Regions from separate parts of the Homo sapiens genome. Here regions 2, 3, 4 and 5 are each linked to region 1. The links are contacts of gene promoters, found by promoter capture Hi-C in blood cells and fetal thymus (Javierre and others, 2016). All regions are on one chromosome and are shown on one strand. The core of a region is centred on a gene start or on the middle of the fragment in contact, and the rest is flanking DNA. Distances in the headings are between cores, read along the strand shown. Region 1 holds the start of EMILIN2 (elastin microfibril interfacer 2). Region 2 overlaps SMCHD1 (structural maintenance of chromosomes flexible hinge domain containing 1). Region 3 overlaps LPIN2 (lipin 2). Region 4 overlaps SMCHD1 (structural maintenance of chromosomes flexible hinge domain containing 1). Region 5 overlaps LPIN2 (lipin 2).

What was found. The method cuts DNA at HindIII sites, captures the fragments that hold promoters and counts their contacts. A CHiCAGO score of 5 or more calls a contact.
Region 2: a contact is called between a fragment that was not itself captured here and the fragment with the promoter of EMILIN2 in region 1, in 1 of 17 cell types (monocytes). The highest score is 7.6, in monocytes.
Region 3: a contact is called between a fragment that was not itself captured here and the fragment with the promoter of EMILIN2 in region 1, in 1 of 17 cell types (monocytes). The highest score is 5.6, in monocytes.
Region 4: a contact is called between a fragment that was not itself captured here and the fragment with the promoter of EMILIN2 in region 1, in 1 of 17 cell types (monocytes). The highest score is 7.9, in monocytes.
Region 5: a fragment that was not itself captured here is called in contact with the fragment with the promoter of EMILIN2 in region 1 in 1 of 17 cell types (monocytes); the score reaches 5.0 in monocytes.

The regions. Positions count from the first base shown.
Region 1 is chr18:2,845,520-2,850,188 of GRCh38, forward strand. EMILIN2 (elastin microfibril interfacer 2) reads left to right here and starts at 1,487. Exons shown (of 8, transcript NM_032048.3): 1 at 1,487-1,803; 2 at 2,290-2,412. The coding sequence starts at 1,670. RefSeq lists silencers at 1,705-1,754, 2,375-2,464. The HindIII fragment of the contact is 11,570 bases long and covers 443-4,669 here.
Region 2 is chr18:2,734,843-2,739,440 of GRCh38, forward strand. SMCHD1 (structural maintenance of chromosomes flexible hinge domain containing 1) reads left to right here. Exons shown (of 48, transcript NM_015295.3): 26 at 3,555-3,703; 27 at 4,590-4,598. Among named protein-coding and RNA genes, the nearest start is that of SMCHD1, 81 kb to the left of the region's middle. The HindIII fragment of the contact is 339 bases long and covers 3,180-3,518 here.
Region 3 is chr18:2,928,494-2,933,501 of GRCh38, forward strand. LPIN2 (lipin 2) reads right to left here. Exons shown (of 20, transcript NM_001375808.2): 9 at 2,763-2,950; 10 at 572-665; 11 at 98-167. Among named protein-coding and RNA genes, the nearest start is that of LPIN2-AS2, 36 kb to the right of the region's middle. The HindIII fragment of the contact is 1,843 bases long and covers 417-2,259 here.
Region 4 is chr18:2,718,715-2,723,224 of GRCh38, forward strand. It overlaps SMCHD1 (structural maintenance of chromosomes flexible hinge domain containing 1), which reads left to right. Exons shown (of 48, transcript NM_015295.3): 20 at 3,805-3,949. Among named protein-coding and RNA genes, the nearest start is that of SMCHD1, 65 kb to the left of the region's middle. The HindIII fragment of the contact is 5,122 bases long and covers 1-4,510 here.
Region 5 is chr18:2,951,644-2,956,337 of GRCh38, forward strand. LPIN2 (lipin 2) reads right to left here. Exons shown (of 20, transcript NM_001375808.2): 3 at 2,861-2,956. Among named protein-coding and RNA genes, the nearest start is that of LPIN2-AS2, 13 kb to the right of the region's middle. The HindIII fragment of the contact is 871 bases long and covers 1,864-2,734 here.

The DNA of each region.
Region 1 (4,669 bases), core at 237-2,736:
TCTACTTAGGGACTTCTCTTTCTTTCATCTGCAAATCAAAAGGTCCAACAACACCATCAAAGAATATTAGAAACAAAATAGACCAATGGCTTCATTTAGTAAAGTAGGAACATAGCAAACGTTTTTATTTTTTATTTTTTGCGACAGATTTTCACTCTTTTTGCCCAGGCTGGAGTGCAGTGGTGAGATCCCGGCTCACTGCAACCTCCATCTCTCTGGTTCAAGCGATTCTCCTGCCTCAGCCTCCCAAGTAGCTGGGATTACAGGCATGTGCCACCGTGCCCGGCAAATTTTTTTTTTTTTTTTGTACTTTTAGTAGAGACGGGGTTTCTCCATGTTGGTCAGGCTGGTCTTGAACTCCCGACGTCAGGTGATCCACCCGCCTCGACCTCCCAAAGTGCTGGGATTACAGGCGTGAGCCACCCCGCCTGGCCCATAGCAAAGCTTTATTCACTTAACGAGTCATGGCCAACAGCGTCTGGTTAGCTCACAGAGGCCACAGTTTTATCTGTGGAGTCTGGTAACCACGCCACTCACGACCCTGTACATTGATTAGATGCAGCAGGTCATCTCAAACACACAGCTCTCTCCAACACCCCTTAGAATACAACACTTGGGTGGTGATTTTACTTAACATTCTGGTACTTCATCCCAAAAAGACATCGGTAGAGATTAGTGTAACTCAACAACAGGCAGAAAACATACAAGAAAGTTTAAGACGGATGTCTAGCAGTGCCTGAACTGTTAAGAAGCAAACGTGAGTAAATGCCTTAGTTTCAATAGAAAAAGAAAGTTCACAGTGGGACCTCAGAAGCAGAGGCTGTGAGATCACCTTTCAAGAATTGGAGGAGAATTGCAGTAAGTGATAGAGCCGGACGCTGAGCTGCAGCAGCCTCTGGGAATTGGCGGGGCTGTGGCTTGTCCTGTCCTGCCGCCCCCCGCGTGGCCTCGGAAACTGTCAGATGGTGCCTAAGGCAGAGTTGGGCAAAGAAAGAACCAGCGTTCGTTTCCTCCTGGACTCTCTAGGTCCATGGAGCTGGTGGGGGAACGGCCCTGTCTTGCCCGAGGAGGAAATTCGAGTCGAGCCCCCACTCCTCTCCCCGCGGGACTGATAAACATGTCCCTCATTCGCCCCGGGAGGCTGGCACCCAGGCACGACGCGAGGACGGCCAGACTCGCCGACGGCGGCCGCGTCCCGGGGGGCCGGGAGCGAGCCTGTCGGAAGGTGGGAGGCGGAGTCGCTCGGCATCTGGGAAGAGACCAAAGGAATGAGTCATTGGAAATGCTGTAACGTAGACCCTTATCCCAAACCCTTTCGCCCCTCCACCCCGAGCCCCCTGCCGAGAAGCGAAGGGACTGGAGACGGGGAGACTTGGTGGGGGGAGAGTCACGTTTCGGAGAGGGAAGTGAAATAAAGAGGGCGGCACCCGGGGGGACCTGTGCGTCATTGAGGGACCGGGGAGAAGCGCAGGGCGCACGGGGCTGCAGAAGGAGAAGTAGGAACGAGAAGCCGGAGGGGGCGGCCGCGGAGCACTGGTTGGAGCGCCGCGAAGCGCCCGAGCCTCTTGCCTTCGCGGGCGGCGCCCTGGCCGCCGGCAGCCTTGTGGCCGGTGCCCCGATCCGCCGCGCTCCGGACCCGGGCAGGCGGGGCGCGCCCGCTGCGCGCGGGATGTGGCAGCCCAGACGGCCCTGGCCCCGCGTGCCCTGGCGCTGGGCGCTGGCGCTGCTGGCCCTGGTTGGCGCGGGGCTGTGCCACGCCGGCCCGCAGCCCGGGTATCCCGCGCGGCCCAGCGCCAGGAACAAGTAAGTGCGCGCCCCTTGGCTGGCCCCAAACCGCCTACCCCTCCCCGGCCCCCAGTTGAGCCCCAGAGCTGCCCTGCCAAAGACGACGAGCGGCAGCCGGGGGCCTCCCTTGGACTTCCCCGGGCGGCTCCCTCTGCGGGGGACCGCGCGCTCCGCAGCCGGCGCCTCAGGCAGAGCTGACTCCGGGGGCGTGGGCGCAGAGAGCGTCCCGCAGACCCGGGCGATCCGAAAACGACTCCCAGGAATTCCATGAGCCCCTGGGACCATGGGTGCTTTTCTTTCCCGTCTTGGTCGGGTCCAGGCGCGCGCTCTCCAGAGGCGCACCCGGGCACCCTCCGGCGTCTGCTCGGTGAAGCTCCCGCCTCCGCAGAGGGCGACGGGCCCCCCCGACCCTCGCTCGGTCTGGTGCCGCAGTCCCCTCTCCCCTGGCCTCATTGTTCTCCGGGTTTACCCCGTGCCCCTCTCCCTCTCTCTCCTGCACCCCAGGAACTGGTGCGCCTACATCGTGAACAAGAATGTGAGCTGCTCCGTGCTGGAGGGAAGTGAGAGTTTTATTCAGGCTCAGTACAACTGTGCCTGGAACCAGATGCCCTGTCCGTCGGCGCTGGTGTAAGTCCTGGAGCCGGGGAGCGGGCGGGGCGCGCCCGGGCCGGGGCGGTGGGGGTGGGGTGGGGTTGCTGCGCTGGGCTCCAGTCCCTCCGGTAAATCCCTTCCAGATCCGGTGAAAAGCCCGCAGCGGAAAAGCGCTCCGAGCGCTCGCGGGGCACCGGCCACGCTGGGCTATTTAGGGAGTGGGTGCTGCCCGAGTGAGTGGGGAGGATGCGCGCGCCTCGGGAGTGTGGGGTCGCGGGGGCGTAGGAGAGGATGAACAAAGCTCCCACTCCCACTTCTGTTTTCTCCCTTTCAATGTTTGTTTGTAACATAAGGCAGCTGAATCTAATTGGATCCATATTGTGTGTTCTGGGGCACACAGAAGATTCCAAAATGTATACTGCTAAAGACTATTCCGTATAGGATTCGCTGAGAGGTTTGGCTAAGTAGTGTTCTAAAACGAGTGAGTTCTGTCCGTATGTCCCCATAAAACGGAATCTTCCAGTTTTGTAGATGTCTAAGCTAAAACCTCAGGAACACTTTGCTTAAAAGTGTGGCTCCCCAGCATCCCTCCCCGCAACTTAGATTTGGAGATTCTCTAGAGATTGTGGGAGAGAATGGCCGTTAAAGACAGGGGGAAGAATTAATCATCTTTTTGCTTATAAAGATTTCCCCATCTTAAAAAAAAAAAAAAACAGGAAGCAATGCAATAAAGTACAAATGCCGTTAAATACATGACACTCATTCAATTGTCATCAGGCAAGTCTTTGGGGGTTTTGTATCAGTCTGATACCGGAAGATGGGCCAGTGTGAATAAATGGCTGTTGAGGAACACATGTGATGGCTGAAATTAATTGTTTTCCACTAAGAATAAGTTGTTTGTCTTAGAGCACAGTTGTCATTACAGCAGAGAATAGTCAGTAGGCGGATCTGTCTTTGGCAAAACCAAGGGACAGACTGGAACTTGTACTCCAGGAAACCTTATTCCAGAGAACAGTAGATGAGCCTGTAGTCTTATGGGAAGTGGTCGCTGGGTCCACCCCACGTGGGCTTCTGGAGGAGCTGCCAACAGGGTTCAGCTAATTCCTGCTCGGCAAAAACAAAGTAAAACAAACAGAAACTTAGACGAGGTCCCCATTTCCTAATATACAGTGGAAAACGCTGAAATTGAATGCCCAGCTAGGCTATCTCTTTGAGTTGGATACATTGTCAGAGAGATAAGGTACTGTCATCCAACCTTAATCTCTTAGTAAGATTGAGACCTCATCGTCTATGGCCAGCAGTCAACGACATCAGAACCAAGCAAGGTTTTTACACTGTGGGAGTGATACAAACTAAGTATTCAACTCAGTTTGAATGCATTTGTTTAAAATTAGAATTGAGTTATTAGTCAGGAATATTTTATTCATCTTATACAAGAACTGCATGGTGTGGCTTGCTATAACCTTAAAACTTACTGGTGACAATTCGGAGATAAATGAATTTTTCATTTTGGGAGGTAATGCATTTTTGTTTAAAAGATGGCTTGTTTTTATTTTCTCAAATTATTTTAGCTGCTTGGAAAACCAAAGGATGATTTAATTGTTCTATTTGACCAAAACTCAGTGAAACTTGGCTGTCAGTGGGGAGTGAATCGCCTCCAGATTGGCAGGTCAATGCAAGGCAGTGGGAGTGCATTTTTGCCACCCAGTGAGTAGGACAACAGAATTATTATAAAAAATGACAGATGTTTCTGTTGTTTTATTAAACAAAGCCAAAATAAGTGACCTGGATGTTTTATTTCAATAATAACCATATAAACAATACAAGTGCATTTTTACATTTTAAGTACTGCACTGTAAGTGTGAAGTTTAAGAAACAAAGACTGAGTTGATGAACCTGAAAATCTTGACATTAGCTTCAGCAGTAAATTCAGTCTTGACTTTTTTCAGTTTCTTTAGGGATGGAACAGAATGGTTTATCTTATTTTTCAACTGAGGAATGCTTCCTAAGATTTCTTTTTTGTTTTTTGTTTTTTGTTTGTTTTGTTTTGAGACAGAGTCTTACCATGTCACCCAAGGTGGGGTGCAGTGGCGTGATCTTGGCTCACTGCAACAACTGCCTCCTGGGTTCAAGCAACTCTCATTCCTCAGCCTCCCGAGTAGCTGGGACTACAGGTGTGTGCCACCATGCCCAGCTAATTTTTTTTTTTTTTTTTTTTGTATTTTTAGTAGAGATAGGGTTTCAACATGTTGGTAAGGCTGGTCTCGAACTTGAGCTCAGGCAATCCGCCCGC
Region 2 (4,598 bases), core at 2,099-4,598, 110 kb before region 1:
GTGGATCACGAGGTCAAGAGTTCAAGACCAGCCTGGCCAAGATGGTGAAACCCCATCTCTACTAGAAAAATACAAAAATTTAGCCAGGCATGGTGGCGGGCACCTGTGATCCCAGCTACTCAGGAGGCTGAGAGAGAGAATTGCTTGAACCCGAGAGTCAGAGGTTGCAGTGAGCCAAGATTGCGCCACTGCACTCCAGCCTGGGAGACAGAGCAAGACTCATCTCAAAAAAAAAAAGTTAATTCACCACGAACAAGTAGGCTTTATTTTTGAGATTCAGGGTTGAACCAACCCTGAATATACGCAAATAAAGTGTGATTCACCACATAAACAAAATTAAAACCGTATGATTTAATATGGTTTCAGTAGACGCAGAAAATGCTTTTGATAAAATCCAACATCCCTTAGTGATAAAAGCCATCACTGGACATTGAAGAACACACCTCAAGATAATGAGAACCATCCATGACAAACCCACAGCCAACATAATATTGAACAGGCAAAAACCGGAACCATTCTCCTTGAGAACTGGAACAAGACAAGGATGCCTGCTCTCACCAATTCTATTCAACTATTGGAAGTTCTACCCAGAGCAATCAGGCAAGAGAAAAATAAAAGGTGTCCAAATAGGAAAAGAAGTCAAACTGTCTCATCATTGTGGAGATGATTCTATACCTAGAAAACACTAAAGACTCTGGCAAAATCCTCCTGGAGCTGATAAACGACTTCAGTAGGGTTTCAGAATGCAAAATCAGTATACAAAAACCAGTAGCATTTCTGTACTACGTTTTAAGCTGAAAGCCAAATCAGTAACACAGTCCCATTTACGGTAGCCACAAAAAACACAAAATGCCTAGGAATACATCTAACCAAGGAAGTGAAAGATCTCTGCAAGGAGAACTGCAAAACACTACTGAAAGAAATCATAGATGATACCTAAAAAAGGGAAAAACATTTCATGCTCCTGAGTCAGAAGAACTAGTACTGCCCAAAGCAATCTACAGATTCAGTGTTGTTCCTATCAAACTACTGTCATTTTTCACAGAATTGGAAAAAAGCTATTCTAAAATTCAGATGGAACTAAAAAAGAGCTCAAATAGCCAAAGTGATTAATCCTAAGCAAAAATAACAAAATGAGAGGCATCACACTACCCATCTTCAAACTGTTCTGCAGAGCTACAGTAACCAAAACAGCATGCTACTGGTACAAAAACAAACACATAGACCAGTGGAGGAGGTTAGAGAGCCCAGAAATAAAACTGTACACATACAGCTATCTGATCTTTGACAAAGGCGACAATAACAAGCAATGGGAAAGGACTCCCTATTCAATAAATGGTGCCGGGATAACTGGCTAGCCATATGCAGAAGAATGAAAGTGGATCCCTACCTTTTACCATATACAAAAATTAACTCAGGATGGATTAAAGACTTAAATGTAAAACTTCAAACCATAAAAATTCTAGAAGAAAACCTAGGAAATAGCCATTCTGGATGTCGGCCCTGGCAAAGAATTTATGACCAAGTCCCCAAAAGCAGTTACAACACAAACAAAAATTGACAAGTGGGACCTAATCAAACTAAACAGCTGCACAGCAAAAGAAACTACCAACAGTGTAAACAGACAGCCTACAGAATGGTAAAAAATATTAACAAGCTATATATTCTAAAAAGGTCTAATAACCAGAATCTATAAGGAACTTTAACAAGCAAAAAACAACCCCATTTAAAAAATGGGCAAAGGATATGAATAGATAACTTGTTAAGAGAAGACATACATGTGGTCAGCAAATATGTGAAAAAATGTTCAACATCATAATCATAATCATGGAGAAATGCAAGTCAAAAGCAAAGAGATACCATCTCACACCAGTCAGAATGTCTATATTTAAAACATCAAAAAATAACAGATGTTGGCAAGATTTTGGAGAAAAGGGAACACTTATGCACTGTCGGTTGGACTGTAAATTAGTTCAGCCACTGTGGAGAGCAGTTTGGAGATTTCTCAACCTTAAATAGAACTATCGTTTGAACCAGCAATACCATTACTGTATATATACCCAAAGGAAAATAATACCATTTCACCAAATATACGTGCAGTTTTCTGTTTATCTCAGCACTATTCACAACAGCAAAGACATAGGTGCCTGTCGGTAGTAGATTGGATAAAGAAAATACACCACAGAATACTACACAGCCATAAAAAAGAACAAAATCATGTCCTTTGCAGCAACATGGATGCAGCTGGAGGCCATTATCCTAAGTGAATTAATGCAGGAACAGGAACCCAAATACTGAATGGTCTCACTTAAAAGTGGGAGCTAAACATTAAATACACATGGACATAAAAATATAGGAAAAGTAGTCACTGGAGATTCCAAAAAAGGGGAGGGTAATAGAGGAGCAGGGGTTGAAAAACTACCTGTTGGGTACTATGCTCATTACCTGGGTGATGAGATAACTCATAGACCAAATCTCAGTGACATGCAATTTATCCATGTAACAAACTTGTATACGTACCTACTGAACCTAAAAGTAGAGGAAAAATAAAGTGTAATTTAGAAATTTTTTTTAAAAAGACTATTAGTGATTTTAAGGCCAGATGTGGTGGCTCACACATGTAATCCCAGCACTTTGAAAGGCTGAGGTGGGAGGATTGCTGGAGGCCAGGAGTTTAAGACCAGCCTGGGCAACATAGTGAGACCACATCTCAACAAAAAATTAGGCAGACCTGGGGTGCATGCCTGTAATCTCAGCTACTCATGAGACTGGGGCAGGAGCATTGCTTGAGCCCAGGAATTGGAGGCTCCAGTGAGCTATGATCATTGCACTCCAACCTGGGCTACAGAGTGAGACCTTGTCTATAAAAACCAAAAATAAAAATAGAATATGAGTGATTTTAAAATCACAACTATAGAAGGCTAAATAAAAGTAGAGAGAAAGTTGAGGTCAGAATTCTTAAATAGAAAGTATTGGGAGTTTAAAAGTAAGTACAGAGTAGAGCAAACAACTTGAAAAAGTATGGATTAAGTGACAAAATATGGAATGTAAGAGGTATAAATTAATACAGAACTAAAAACACCTAAGAAGAGATTAAGGCCAAAGTATGGCCAGAAAGTTAGATCAAACTTCTTTTTTCTCACCTTGCTAAGAATAACGTCCACCTAGATCTCATTGAAAGCTTTCCCATAAATAGGATTCTTTTCAAAAAATAATTGAATATTGCTTTTCAGAATTAATCACATGATCTGATTTATATGTTACTTTTAAACGATAATGGCCACAGTGATACTTTTGTGGCAGAGCTCTAAAGAAATGACTTAAGAATTTTTATTTTATCTCACTAAAAAAATAGGGCAATATTAACAACAAAGACAAAGAGGATGCCTTTGTATCATATTAGTATATGAACCACACCGTTTCTGACCATAAAGAGACTTTTTTCTTGGGGGTGAAGAAGACGGATTATAATGTAGTTTTAAGAGTAAGATAAGTGGCAGTAAGAGAACATTAGACGAAGCTTTATTATTGTTAAATATCTCTTTTTCTCCTAGGTTAATTGGACTCCTGAGATTAACAAAGAACACTTGCTACAGGGTCTGCTTCCTGATGTGCAAGTACCAACATCTGTAAAAGATATGCGCTATTGCCAGGTTTCATTCCAAGATGATCATGTGTCTTTGGAAAGTGCGTTTACAGTAAGGTTTGTGGACTCATTATATTTTGCAGCCTATGGCAACAAAATACTGTCCTCCATTGCACATATATGAAAGTTGTTTTTAATGTAAAAATATTACGGTTTCTATGAAATATAATAGATTGTCTTTGGAATAAAGTGTCATTGGTGATAGCGATTAATTTTTGTTATCACTGTAATCTTGCACTGAATTGGCCTTCTAGTAGCTGGAACCTTCATTAAAGGAAAGTTTAGTGCCAGTAACAGTGAAAACACCTGCAAAATGACAAAGACGTGAAAAATACAAAAGATACAGTGTGATCAGTCAGTGTTGTTCAGAAGGAAAAATCCTTTCATTGCTTAGTGAGAATTTTTAAAGCTGAGAGTCCAACCAGAGTTAATATGTAGAACTCATATTGAAGGGACAGAATTAAGTGAATGTGTAAAAAAAACCTTTACACTGGCCTATCAATTTCTTGGCCACCTCTTTTCCAATAACCTCTTGCACTTTAATTCCTCTACCCATTTCTATACTTTACCCAACACTTAGGATAGTTCTGTTTTTGAGATAGAATTTTCAAATGTACTGCATTCTGACCGTAATGAGATCTCTCAATGAGTTGTTAACTCATCTGTTTTCTTGTCATAATTTCCTTTTAATCCAGCATAAATACTGTGACTTAACATGTCTGTAAGTTTTTGGTCCATATTCTCTACTATCTTTGCAAAGTGTCTTTTTCCTATTTTCTTTTGGATTAATAGCAGATTATATAAATTAAACAGTTATTTGAAGGAGTGTTATTGTATTTGAGTTATTGGATATGAACATTATATATGTGTTATTCTGTAGCATGTTGGAACTACTTCAATTAATGGTGTCACTAAAGACTTCTAACTTGTTAAACAATTTCAGACCACTTCC
Region 3 (5,008 bases), core at 88-2,587, 83 kb after region 1:
AATAGTACCCAGTTCAGAAATATGCACATATGGATTTGTGTAAGTACTAGACACTGCGGATGCTTTCGGAAAGGCAGCAGATGGTGGATCGCCTCACCTTAGGCAAGCTCTTCTGGAATACTTGCAAGCTAAGGATCATGGGAGCTGCCAAAGCCCAGTTATAGTAACTGTGAGAAACAAAAATTGTGCAAAACCATTACACAGTGAAAGTGAGCAAGAGAGAGGGGAGGGAATCAGGGAGGGAGGGAGGAGGGAAGTGACATATAAAATTGCTTATTCTTTTCAATAAAGATGATCAGCTGAATTTTTTGTCACATGAATAACCTTCGCTTCAAGCACAACTTCTCTGAACAGAGAAGCCGTAAAATCTATCAAACAGAGTAACATTTCAATGCTTCTTTTAAAAATAAAATTGAAGCTTTACTTTCACTTCAAAGTCATTGCCCACTGGCTAATTTATATGAGATGACAAGTTTTATAAGAAGGAACACTTTTATAAGTAACAGTTAAAAATGGCACTTGTAAAAAAACTGCAAGAGTATTTAACAATTATAAAAGCAGGAGTATTTACCGATTATATATCCTTATTACAAGGTTAGGATTGTCTATAAGTCCAGGGTTTTCTGCAAATTCGTGATAAGTAATGATATGCTCCATGAATTTTTCTGCAATGTAAAATAATAATCAATTTGGTTAGAGATTACATAAATCCCTATATGAGATTATAATACTCTCTGCATTGCAGAAATTGAAGGCTAAAATCATCTGTCTAAAAAAACTAATTTTTGAATATTCATCAAAAGCAAAATGTCAGACGCTTTTTTTCCCCAGGACAAGAAAGAACACTTCTTTTCTATTCTCCTTTTCCACTGTCTCCCAGTGAAAACAAACAAACTAGTAAAAAGGGACATGACAGAGACTTTCAAAAAAAATACATACAGATGTGGCTAGAGAGGGACGGAAGACAGACACAGAAAGACAGACAGACACACACACACGAAAACTGTCGAAGTTCTATTCTCAGAGGAAGAAACTTTACTGACAGGCAACGGCATAACTGGGGAATATTCATAGGGGTCTTACAGCTTTAGCAAGCTACATTATATCAAAACATATCTTAAAATTGTTTGGGCCAGGCACAGTGGCTCACACCTATAATTCCAACACTCTGGGAGGCCGATGTGGGCCGATCACTTGAGGTCAGGAGTTAGGGACTAGCCTGGCCAATACGGTGAAAACCCATCTCTACTAAAAATACAAAAATAAGGCGGGTATGGTGGTGCCAACCTGTAATTCCAGCTACTTGGGAGGCTGAGGCAGGCGTGACAATCACTTGAACCCAGGAGATGGAGGTTGCAGTGAGCTGAGATGGTGCCACTGCACTCCAGCCTGGGTGACAGAGCAAGGCTCTGTCTTAAATAATAAAAACAACAACAAAAATTACATGTTACAATTGCTTGGAGAATTAAAAAAACAAAACAAGGCAAAACAAAAAAACCTAGAATTTGGCTCAAGGTCTGTGAAATAAATCCCAAGTTCTTGCAGAGTGAATGAGGGCTTCCCATGAATTTTTGTACCCTGTTCCTAAACCTGTATTCTCCTAGATCTAGGCTAACAGAGAAACTGCTCACTTGGATTGTTTCTCCAGGTAATGTGTGTATTACTTACATTTACTTGTCATTTCTGCCTCTTCCAATAAACTCTACTAGACTAAGTCACCAATATTTAAAACAAAGGTGTAACTTTTATATTTTACCTACATTTTGTATTTCGCATTCCCTCGCATATAATTTTTTAAACTGAACATTTAAGAGGATTACAGAAAGAATGTGACCTATTTAACTTAGTCCCTAGAATGAACCATTGGCCATAACACACTTTAAATTTCTTGCAAAATATAAAGCAAACAAACAATGAAGAGACAGGGAAGAGGCATAATGAGCTTCCTGTGACCCTGGAAAGGAAAGACTTCAGGAACACATGGTCCTGAGCCTCTGGCCATGCAGTCTGCCACATCACACCTTCAGTTCCTCTAAGGGAGAGGGAAGACAAAAGATGACACTAGTCACGGAAAGAAAATTTTCCCTTAGAAGAAAATCATACAGGGGCCACAGGCCAAACTGAGAAATACTAAGAGTTCAGTTTTAAAAGGAAGGTTAAAAAAAAATGCTGATGAATTGAGGACGGATGCACATGGCACTCAGCCCAGCCTATAGGCATCCTGACATGTCTGCTAAACTCCCTCCTGATTCCTGAGCAAGCTTTACTCTCGTAGGCCAACCCTCCAGCCTTATACAGAAAGTAATCCTCCTAATTTTTGCCAGAAAGACCACGTACTCAGTGGACAATCAATTTTCTACAACTTCAGGGCCCTATATTCATGTCTAAGGCCCAGTGCTTTCCAGAAGGGCAGCTGGGCCCCAGTTCCACAAATGTTTCTGTAACTTTACAGATGAGAAAACTGGTGCAGTGTGATGATCGCACCCTGGCAGCTCAGAAAACAGGGCGGCCTGATAACTCCCAACCTCTTAATTTGAAATTAGAGCCTTTAAGGGCACACTACCTCAAAGCCACTCCATAAAGAGGTGTCAATTAAGACCTTAAGTGAGGGTATAAGGGTCTGACATTACAGAACATACCTGTTACCTGCACAAGATCCCTAAAGAATGTAAATATCCTGAAATGGCTACACGGTAAGTTTTAACCAAGTGATGACCAGATTGCTCTCTGAAATGAAGATGGGGCACAAACACCCAACGTACCTTTTGAAATTTCTCCATTTTCACTGAGGCCCCCGCAAAGGGAGAGGGTAACGTCAGGCAAGTCCATGGCAGAATCTGAGAGGCACTCGGTGCCGCTATCTGCAGCTGCGCTTCCCACGGACTGTGGGGACTGGGAGCCAGAGAGTGTGTCAGACTCGGGCCACTGCCTGGAACCGGGCTCCGATTCACTGTGGACAGGGGATGGGGAAAAGATGTGCTTTATTACAACTCCTTGAATTCCTAGTTTACTGCATGGTTCTCTGGGGGCTCAAACCAAATAACACATCCGCTAAAAAGAACGGATGGACCTACAATCAGGCATAACTTTTCTTAGATAGGGTTTAGAATCATATCATAAATGACATGAAAGATAACCTAATATAGTACCAGTGAGAAATTAACTGTGAATATAGTAAATACGTCACAAAATCACCACGGTCATTCACAATAATGCAAACATTTCAACTGTGGCCTTTCTGATTTTTAATTAAAGGAGTAAAATAGTTATAAGTATTTATTTACATTTCCATGATGAAAATGACAGGGTAATTAAGAAAATCTGCTGTTTGGAAACCTTTGATCCTAACGTCCTAGAAAAAGCTGTGGCACTTTATACATCCTGTAGAAAATTACTGTAGTCCAAGGCTATATTCTTTAAAACCAAATCTTTTCTAAGTTCGCCTATTACCTCACAAAGAAGGAAGGAGAAATTAAACGAGCAAATTCTCTAGAGGCAAGACCCACCTAGAAAAAGAAATGTATTCAGAAATAAACTGGATGTAACTGTTATTCCAGGAGCTAAAGATGAGGTTACTGAATATTTTCATTTTTCAAGATAAGGCACAGAAGCCAGGTTTCAGAAGGTGATCAAGGGAAACCTTATGCAATGAAGTGTAAATTTGAGAAAGAATAATCATGAATGGCACAGCACCTTAAGTCTCACAGTCCCCAATGCTTACTACTCTATACCCTTTGAATAGGTATTTAATGTCACATTTGAGATATTGAGAATTTTCAAATTCACTTATTTTATTCAAAAAGCCAGTATTTTTATGTGAATTAAAAAAACAGTGACCCAGAGGTTTACTGGCTCTTTCAAACAAATCTCATCTTTGAGCAGTAGGTGGCAGCAGACTACAGATTATGTTTTAACTAGGTAACAGTTTCAAAACCTGTTTCCCATTTGAATCAACAAAAAAATTCAGGTTTTTGGATATTTTTTCCTCTTAATAGCCATGCACACTCATACCCACAAAATTGAGATTAACTGGACTGACAGAATGTTCTCACTGGAAACACAAAGTCAGCAGAACTGTTGTTATACTGGGAGTGAGGGGCAAGGCCAACCCTTCTGTGTTCACCACACCTGTCTCCTCTTTCTCCGGGGCACACGGCGAGGCCCCCTTGCAGTCAGGTGGGGCCACGTGAGCACATGACTGAGCCGTGAATATGGACGGAAGGCATACATGGTGCCCCTCCCCAGGGGCCCTCTCCTATGCGATGCTCATTCCTTTCTCTGCTGCCAGTAAACTCTGGACTCTGAGACCCTATGGGGATGGGAGAGCCTCAAGGTGAAAGGAGCCTGTGTTCCTGAATCCCTGTGGGCAAGGCCTCCCCCTAAACACCAACACAGAGCATTCTTCACAGGGGCAAGAAACAAAATTCCATCGTGGTAGGCCAACGAGATCAGGAGTTCCACCTCTACAGCAGCTAGTGTTACCCCAACCAGTAACAACAACATCTACACACATGGGGATGCCGTCTGACTCAGGATGCCACCAAATACAAAAGTGTGTGATTTATATTAAAGTTTAGTGATAATTACAAATACTGTAAATTTGGTAATGAAGATGCTAAGGATCATGACATGACTAATGCTTACATGGATTACAAGAGTCTCACTCACTATCTTTAAATATTTATGAAATGTTTCAAGAAATAGTTAATGAGGTAAGAAGCTTACTTAGTGCATGGACAGTGACTGTGAACAGTTAAATTACAGTAGAGTGGAGTAAGGTATCATCACCTTAGTTACTCTCCTCACTTTTTAAAAGAGAAACTAAGACATATACCGAAGGAATACCAATATAAATAAATGATTAAGGCCTGGGAAATGTGGGGGGAAAAGTGGTAATTCTATGACAGCTTATATTTGAACTTTCCTACTGTTAAAATAAAGCCGTTTCAGTTTTTTCACCTTAAAAAAATCCAACTATTACTTCAAATGAAGTAGATATGTTGAGATA
Region 4 (4,510 bases), core at 753-3,252, 130 kb before region 1:
CTGGCTTTTTGTATTTTTAGTAAAGACAAAGTTTCGCCATGTTGACTAGGCTGGTCTCGATCTCATAACTTCTGATGATCTACCTGCCTCAGCCTCCCAAAGTGCTGGGATTACAGATGTGAGCCACCGTGCCCGGCCCATTTTGATTTTCAAATAGCTTTGTAAGTCTACTCGATAATCATATTCCTTCTGAATTTTGAAGACATTGTTTTCTACTTTTCATTGTTGCTGGTAAAGTCTAAAGCTGTCCTGATTCCTGACCCTGGGCATATTGCCCCTCCTCCCCCAAAACGTTCTCTGTTCCCCAGTCCTCAAGTTTTAGGGGAATCCCAGTTTCTGAAATATTCAATTGTATGATTTAGCATAGGCCTGTTTTTATCTAGTATCATCCAGCCATGTACCTCGTATACCCTTTCAGTCTGGAAATCCCTGTTTTATTTTCTAGGAATTTTTCTTGAATCACTTTGATTTTCTATTTTCTTTTTCTCTCCTTTTCTTTTCTGTTCCTTTCCTTTCTTTTCTTTTCTTTTCCTCTCTCCTCTCCTCTCCTCTCTCCTCTCTCCCCTCTCCCCTCTCCCCTCTTTTCTTTTCTTTTCAATGGAGTCTCACACTGTTGGCCAGGCTGGAATACAGTGCAGTGGCATGATCTTGGCTGGCTGCAACCTCTGCCTCCCAGGTTCAAGCGATTCTTCTTGCCTCAGCCTCCCAAGTAGCTGAGATTACAGGTGCCCACCACCACACCTGGCTAATTTATTTGTATTTTTAGTAGAGATGGTGTTTCACTATGTTGGCCAGGCTGGTCTCGAACTTCTGACCTCATGATCTGCCCTCCTTGGCTTCCCAAAGTGTTGGGGTTACAGGTGTGAGCCACTGCACCTGGCCTTTTTTCTTTTTTGGAGATAGTGTCTTCCTCTGTTGCCCAGGCTGGAGTGCAGTGGTGTGACTGCAGTTCACTGCACCTAATTTTTTTTTTTTTGGGAGATGGAGTTTTGCTCTTGTTGCCCAGGCTGGAGTGCAATGGTGTGATCTCGGCTCACTGCAACCTCTGACTCCCAGTTTCAAGCGATTCTTCTGCCTCAGCCTCCCGGGTAGCTGGGATTACAGGCGTATGCCACCACGCCCGGCTAATTTTGTATTTTCAGTAGAGATGGGGTTTCTTCATGTTGGTGAGGCTGGTCTTGAACTTCTGACCTCAGGTCATCCGCCAGCCTCGGCCTCCCAAAGTGCTGGGATTACAGATGTTAGCCACCGCACGTGGCCCTGTCTAATTTTTAAAAAACATTTTTTTGTAGAGACAGGGTCTTGCTATGTTATGTTGCCCATTTCGGCCTCAAACACCTGGCCTCAAGCCATCTTCCTGCCTCGGCCTCCCAAAGTGCTGGGATTACAGGCTTGAGCCACTGTGCCCAACCTGTTCTTTCTTTCTAAAATATCTAATGTTAGGATGTTGGATTTCAGGATTGGTATATTATTTTTGTTTTTCCTACTTTCCATCTCTTGGTTTTGTTTTTACTACCTTATTGGAGATTTTCTTAACAGCTTGATGTTCTATGCTTTCTATTTTTTCCTTTTTGCTACCATTTTTAGTTTCTAAAATCTCTTTTAAAATAATCTTGTTAAACAATTCCTTAAGCATTCTCTTCCTACTTCATGAATTCAGTATCTTTATTCTCTGAGGATATTAATAATAGTGGGGGTTTTTCTTACAGCGTTTTTCCTGATTCATAGTTTGTTTCCTCCATGTTGTTTTTTTATTAGATATTCTGTTATATAATTAGTGATTTGCTAACATTGAAGAATAGGGCACTTGAAAATTTCCTTGGGGTAATTATGATATGAGAATTTTTAGGTCTTGTCTCTTTGGCTATTCAGATTCCCCGGAGTGGAGCCTTTCAGTCACCTGCTAAAAGGGTACAAGACCTAGCTGCCAGCATTTTGGGAACCAAGCTGAGAAAGACCATTTATGTTTGTAGGGGGGCGGTCCTCATATTTAGTATATAATTTTCCACGTGATTTTCCTATTTTCAATAAACACTTTCCTATTTTCAGTGACACTTTTACATTTAATTGATTAGATTTTAAAATACAGACAGGGTCTCACTATGTTACCCATGCTGGCCTTGAACTCCTGGGCTCAAGCTATCCTGCTTTCTTGGCCTCCCAAAGTGCTGAGATTACAGGTTTGAGCCACCACGCCTGGTCAGTGACACTTTTAGTAGTGCTGTGTCTCTCACTTCTAGACCTTTTCTTCTTTCCCTGAAGAATAAACCTTCCATCTTTTGCTGGGGATGAGGAGGGTCGTTGACTAGCACATGCATTGAAGGATGGGGATCTGTGAAACTGTTTCTCAAACTGACTTCAGCCAACCTTCTTGTTTTATTTCAATTTCACTACAACTTTATACAGCCATTCCTGAGACTTATGGGCGTCTGATAACGGTGAATCAGATTCAGTCTCTGCTTGCTTTGTTGTTTGAGTATTTGATGTTCTTGGGTCTTTCTGCTAAGTCAGTTACACTTACTCATATGTTCTTTGGCTTTCCAATTCTATTACTCTCATCTTTTTTCTTGTTTACTGCTTTTGTAGAGTCATTGTTACAGGGTTTTTGGAGAGAACTGATCTAGGTAGCTGTGATATCAAGAAGGCCCACCTTGGAGTGTGGTTTTCTTTTTTTTTAAATGTTTTAGGAGACTTTTTTATACATAAATCTACTGTGTTCTTTTAACACCTGTGGAACATATTTTCATAAGATGGGCGTGCTGTAGTTTAAGCAGTTTCCTGTTGATGAATCGTGTTGATTGTTTCCAAGTTTTTGGCTATTAGAAACCGTAGTGCTTTTTGGGGAAAAAAAAATTATGCTGCTTTCTGTACGTATGTTAGAATCTCTTTAGGGTGATACCAAGAAGTGGACATCCCAAAAGGCTATGCCATGGTACCTTCACTTCTCACTATGAGAGTTCCAATTGACTGCATGCTCATTCCTGGCTGAACTATATATTCATTTAGCATAGTTGGTGGTGAAACTGCTTCTCTAATTTTTAGATTGTGTACCTCTTCTAGCCATTATTGGACATTGTATGCCAATGCTTGTTCATTTACTATGCCCATTTTAATAGTTTAAAGCTGTGGTTCTCAAATTTGAGTTTGTATCAGAATCACCTGAAAGGAAACACAGCTTGCTGAATTTCACCCTGAGTTTCTGATTCAGCAGGTTTGAGATAGGCCCTAGAATTTGCATTTCTAATAAGTTCTCAGGGGATGCTAAAACTTCAGGACTAGAGACCACACTTTGAGAACAGCCAATTTATAGGAGGGCTTCATGTAGTCTGAATTTTCCTTGTTACACATGTTGCAAATATTTTCTCATGTCGAGCTTCTATTTAACTTCATCATATATATCATTTTATAACTATTGAATATCGTGTTTTGCCTTTAAAGCTCTTTCCTATGAAAAGGTATAATGGCTGGGCATGGTGGCTCACGCCTGGGGAGGCAGGTAGATAGCTGGAGCTCAGGTGTTCAAGACCAGTGTGGGCAACATGATGAGACCCTGCCGCTACAAAAAATACAAAAATTAGCCAGGTGTGGTGGTACACACCTGTAGTCCCAGCTACTCAGGAGGTTTTTCCCAAGTGGATTGTCTGCATAACATATAATTTTTGCGCTGATTTTAAAATGTTATTTTTAGCATAGTCTAAAATAGATTTCTAAAATTTCTCAGATAGAAATGGATCTGTTTTTGACCCCCAATGGCTTTTCTGACCAATGTACTTGCTTTTCATTTCATTTTTGTTTTTGTTAAAGAGGGTAAGCCAGAGAAATTTTCATTTGGTCTTCTGGATCTTCCTTTTCGTGTTGGAGTTCCATTTAATATCCCTCTGGAGTTTCAGGATGAATTTGGTCATACCAGTCAACTAGTAACTGATATTCAGCCAGTTCTTGAAGCAAGGTAATTTGAAGGATCAATATGTATTTGTCCTTTGATATTTGCTAAGCATTTACTCTTTTTTTCAGCTTCATTTTTTTTGTGTGTAAGGTGTTCAACTTTAATTATTTAAAATATTAGTGAATTTTATTATATCTGGGTAATTTAGCTCCAAGCTATCCTCTGTGACTAGTGTCATATATAAATTGCTTCACTAAAGTTTATGTTTTGACTGGATTTATTGCTGAAGTTGTTAAGGTGTTTATGTCTTACTCTATGTTCTTTTGCAAGTATGATATAATGTCTCTTAACAATTCATTATTTGAAATACTTCATTCTGTGTCTTCTGTCATCACTGTTTTCTCTTTTAGCGTTCTTAGTTATTGGATGTTGGACCTTCTGGATTTAATCCCCAATTTTTAAAAAAATGTTCTCAATCTTTTTGTTTCTGTTTTACTTTCTGATAAATTTTCTCGACCTTATGATTACTACCTTTCCATTGAATTTTTCCTTTCTGCTAACATATTTTTAGTTGCTGTGAGTTCTTTCTGGTTCTCTGAAATTTTTTAAAGACCCTCTTGTTTT
Region 5 (4,694 bases), core at 1,049-3,548, 110 kb after region 1:
CTAAGCCTATTAAATTCTTCACAAAGCAAAGATCAAAGCAGCAACAAAAATCTCAGGAGGTGTTACAAAGGACTCTCTCAAGAACTCACACAGAACATTCAGAACAGGAAAAAGCAGAAGGCAGAGATTAAGGACACTACATCAGACAAAGGGCAGCAGGACAGGTGAGTGACGCGAGGATGCAGTGATACAGAGCGGCCAATGCTTATGTTTTGCCAAATTAATTGGAGAAAGGCAATTAGAGACAATACCGTGTAACAAATGACATTAGTAAATTTTTAAACCATAAAGCATTTATGTTTAAAAATAAGAAATATTCCTTCCTGTAGGAATTCAAAAGAAGAAAATAAGGCCCAATATTTAGAAGCAGTCAAACTCCTAATACTAAATAAACGATCAAGTCTGGTGTTCAGTAAATTCATGTCTTAGCCATTTGTTTCATTCCTTTTTGTATCATCAGAGGAAATGGAAGGTACATAATAGAGATAAAAATTAACTTCAGGCAGAACGTGGTGGCTCACGCCTGCAATCCCAGCACTTTGGGAGGCAGAGGCAGGCGGATCACCTGAGGTCAGGAGTTTGAGACCAGCCTGGCTAACATGGTGAAACCCTGTCTCTACTAAAAATACAAAATTAGCTGGGCCTGGTGATGCATGCCTGTAATCCCAGCTACTCAGGAGGCTGAGGCAGAAGAATTGCTTGGACCTGAGGGGGAGGTTGTAGTGAGCCGAGATCATGCCACTGCACTCCAGCCTGGGCAACAGAGCGAGACTCCATCTCAAAACAAACAACAAAAAAATTAACCTCATATAATTTAAAATACTCAAGCTTTTAAACAATAGTTCTGAAAATGTATAGGTTTCTGTAATTATTTTTTTATTAAGCTTTTGAACTTAGCTTTGATAAACATATTACCCTGAAGCTAAAGTTTGATTTAGCTAGGAGAAATCTGTGTTCACCAGAAACACACACTTACAGAGAAATTGTAATAAGATATTCTGAATGTCCAAAAGAAACCCAGATGAGAGGTCGTGGTCTCTGACTTTGAGGATTTTTAATTCAATGATCTTTATTTTACTTACTGAAAGCTCTTTTTGTTTCTGGTGGTATTTCTTAGTTCTATTATAGCAATGTTTGTAGGATGAAGATAACCTGAACGCCTACCAGCAAGAAAATGGTTAAACAAACTATGGTATGTCCATACTATGGAATACTGTGCAGCTATTAAAAGCACAGAGTTAGGTTTAGAACTAGACTTGAAAAGAATGTTGATGACATATAATTAAATGAGAAAAATCTGAGAGAAAAAAATCAAATAAATGGCAACAAACTGGGTTTTTGGTCATCTTTATCCTACTCTAAATGACGAACCCCTAGAGGAACAGAGGCATGTTGTATTCATAGCATGTGGCATAGAGTAGTAATTCCAACATTTGTTGGATAAATTAACAATTTTTTATTTTAAGGAGAAGCATACTACACAAGATAAACTCTGGTCAATGTAGTCATATGTGGAATAGGGAGAAAAAGGCTGGAAAGTTGACATTTTCCAAGTTGTCCTTGCTGAGCATAATTTTTAGCGGAACTGTCAGAATAAGCCATGAAAACGAGGTTAACATCAATAACCCAGTCCTCTCGCTTACGGTGCCTGCTGATCTAGAAGTTCAGTGTTATGAATTATAAATAATTTTAAGAAACATACAAAAAGTGGTTTTTTTTTTTGACAGATGTCATTTATTATGTTTCATTCTGCTCTTTGCCTCTGTCTCTGATAAGGAAAAATGTTGCTTAGGCCAAGTAAATGCAAACAAGGTATTACAAAGATAAGTAATGAAGAAACTAGAAAAAGCACCAGTCTGATCAAGCTTCCCCTTCATAAATCATAGTGTTTCAATGCTGCTTTACCTACTGGTACCTAAGTTGTTGGTTTCTCAATCAAAAAATGATAAACAATCTCATTTTGCTATCGTATTTTTTGGTAATAATTTTCTTTGTAAATTTATTGTATCAAACTGTAAGTTCATCTTCAAAGCCAAAAAAGTAGTCCTGTATCCTTAATAACTTGATGCTTATCAGTTTTGCTATTTGAGACTTTATTCTTTATGAAGAATGATGTACTGATGCCTTTGAAAGAATTTTTAAAAAGATGCACATTACGTGATCTGAGTTCTTTAGTGAGAATGTAAAATCTATTATTAATAAATAAATAAATAAAAAGATCCACATTGAATCCATCAAGAATCCGTCGTTAACTAGCGTTCAAATCAGTACATACAGAATGTGTGTGCTGGGGAGGGGGGATTTTAACAAATCATGCTCGTTTGCTAGAAGAAGTCAAACATGTAATCACTTATAAAAGGATATAGGCCAATTAATTTAACTCTCTTGAGATCATAATAAATTAATTCACCTGACTACTCAAGGTGAGGGATGTAATATCCCAACCAAAATGGTAAACATGAGTCCCAGTCCAAAGGGCACATGTGGATAAACACATAGCCAGAAGAGAAATGCCCTACTCAGGCAGAACTGAATGTATTCAAGTCAATATGTGAACCAGAAGCAACACTAAGTAAGAAAGCTCATTAAAGCTAGAAAGTGATGTGCCTTCCCTTAGAAAAAGTGCAAGTATGTGCATTCAGCATGCTCCCTGCACCCTGAAACTTTGTATGGAGAAAAATTCCTCATCCCTTCAGTTCCTTTTTGACAGCTTAGTTCTTCAACATGAAACTAAAGCTTGTCTTGCCAACAACAGTCCTCTGTACAATCAACCATAAAAAACTGCTAAACGGTCCGTCTGGGCCACGTACCAGAGGCCTGAGCACACTGTGTAAGGAGGGTGTAACCCATGCAAACTTACATATTCTTCTTCAGTCTCCTCAACAAAGAAAGCTTCTCCGTTATCACCCAACTTCATGTGAAGATCCACTGCACTGCCGTTGATTTCTATATCAATCTATGGGAGAAACAAAGTATGACTTAATGTTCAAGGAGTCTTTCCTTCAAGTTAAACTAAACCAGAACTCTGAGTTCTCAAGTCAAACTTAGCATAGTTTTGAGGTTCCTAGAACTACAGCCTCTGAGAAACACTGCTACTTGCCCCTACCCAACCCCTAAGAAGCCAAATGGAGCTGGCAGAGGGAGAGATGGACAACCAGGAATTGAAAGAAAGTGTTTCACCATCTATTTTTACAACATATAAAAATTTTAAAATTATTTTTCAAATTTAAAATGGGGGAAATATTATTGTCAAACATTTGCACACTTTCCAAGTTATGGCACAGGCAGGCCTCACCTCACACGGTTCAGATACACACAAGTTTCAGGAACCTCAGTATGTGAGCTGTGAGCAACTGCATCAAGTACAACTTCACCGACAGCTCTTCTGCCCACAGATCACTACGTAAGTAACAGGTGACAATCAGTGCTGTGATTGGTCACTGATGATGGCGGTTCCATTTTCCCAAGAACCAGGTGAAACGATGGGATAAGTAATATCATGTCAAAAAAAAATTCAGGTAGACATATGCGTTGGGCCATTTTTGTGTTTGCTATAAAGAAATACACAAGGCTGGGCAATTTATAAAGAAAAGAGGTTTAACTGGCTCATGGTTCTGCAGGCTGTACAAGCACGGCGTTGGCATCTGCTTGGTTTCTGGGGAGGACTCAGGAAACCTTTACTCACGGTGAAAGGCGAAGTGGGGGCAGACACGTCACATAGTGAGAGCAGGTGCAAGAGACTGGGGGTGCCACACAAAGGTGCCACACACTTTTAAAACAATTGGATCTTGTCAACTCAGCAAAAACTCATTCATCCCCAAGTGGATGGTGCTAAGCCATCCATGAGGGATCTGCCCCCATGATCCAAACACCTCCCACCAGGCTCACCTCTAACACTGGAGTTCACATTTCAACATGAGACTTGGAGGGGACATCCAAACCTTATCAACATATTTTGTCAAAATGCTTGTTATAAAACTCCTATGTATGGGCCGGGTGCAGTGGCTCATGCTTGTAATCCCAGTACTTTGGGAGACCAAGGTGGGCAGGTCACCTGAGGTCAAGAGTTCGAGACCAACCTGACCAACATGGTGAAACCCCGCCTCTACCAAAAATACAAAATCGGCTGGGCATGGTGGCGCCCGCCTGTAATCCCAGCTACTCGGGAGGCTGAGGCAGGAGAATCGCTTGAACCCAGGAGGCGGAGGCTGCAGTGAGCCGAGATCACGCCATTGCACTCCAGCCTGGGCAACAAAAGCGAAACTCTCTCAAAAAGAAAAACAAACAAAACAAAACAAAAACAAACAAAAAAACCTCCTATGTATGAATAACATAACCACACTGAAGTGAGGAAGAATGGAACTAACCTTACCTTGGAAACAGTATTTTGACTTGTATTATAAGTCTAAAGACATATTTGATATGTTACTCCAAACAAACATTGTGCAGTAGTTAATACATTCACAGAGATTTGAGTTAGCAATTCTGAAACTATTTTGTGTTTCCTAGGATTGAGTAACTAAGCAGATATACTGACGATAATCAGAACCATGTTTCCTGTTGAAAGAGAAAAAAATTATAAATAAGGAGGGGGAAAGAAGCCTGCGATGGTGGATGGGAATTGGAGGAACCCGTGTGCCCTCATGATTTTCATATATAGATGCAGGGGTGTGTGTGTGTGTGTGTGTGTGTGT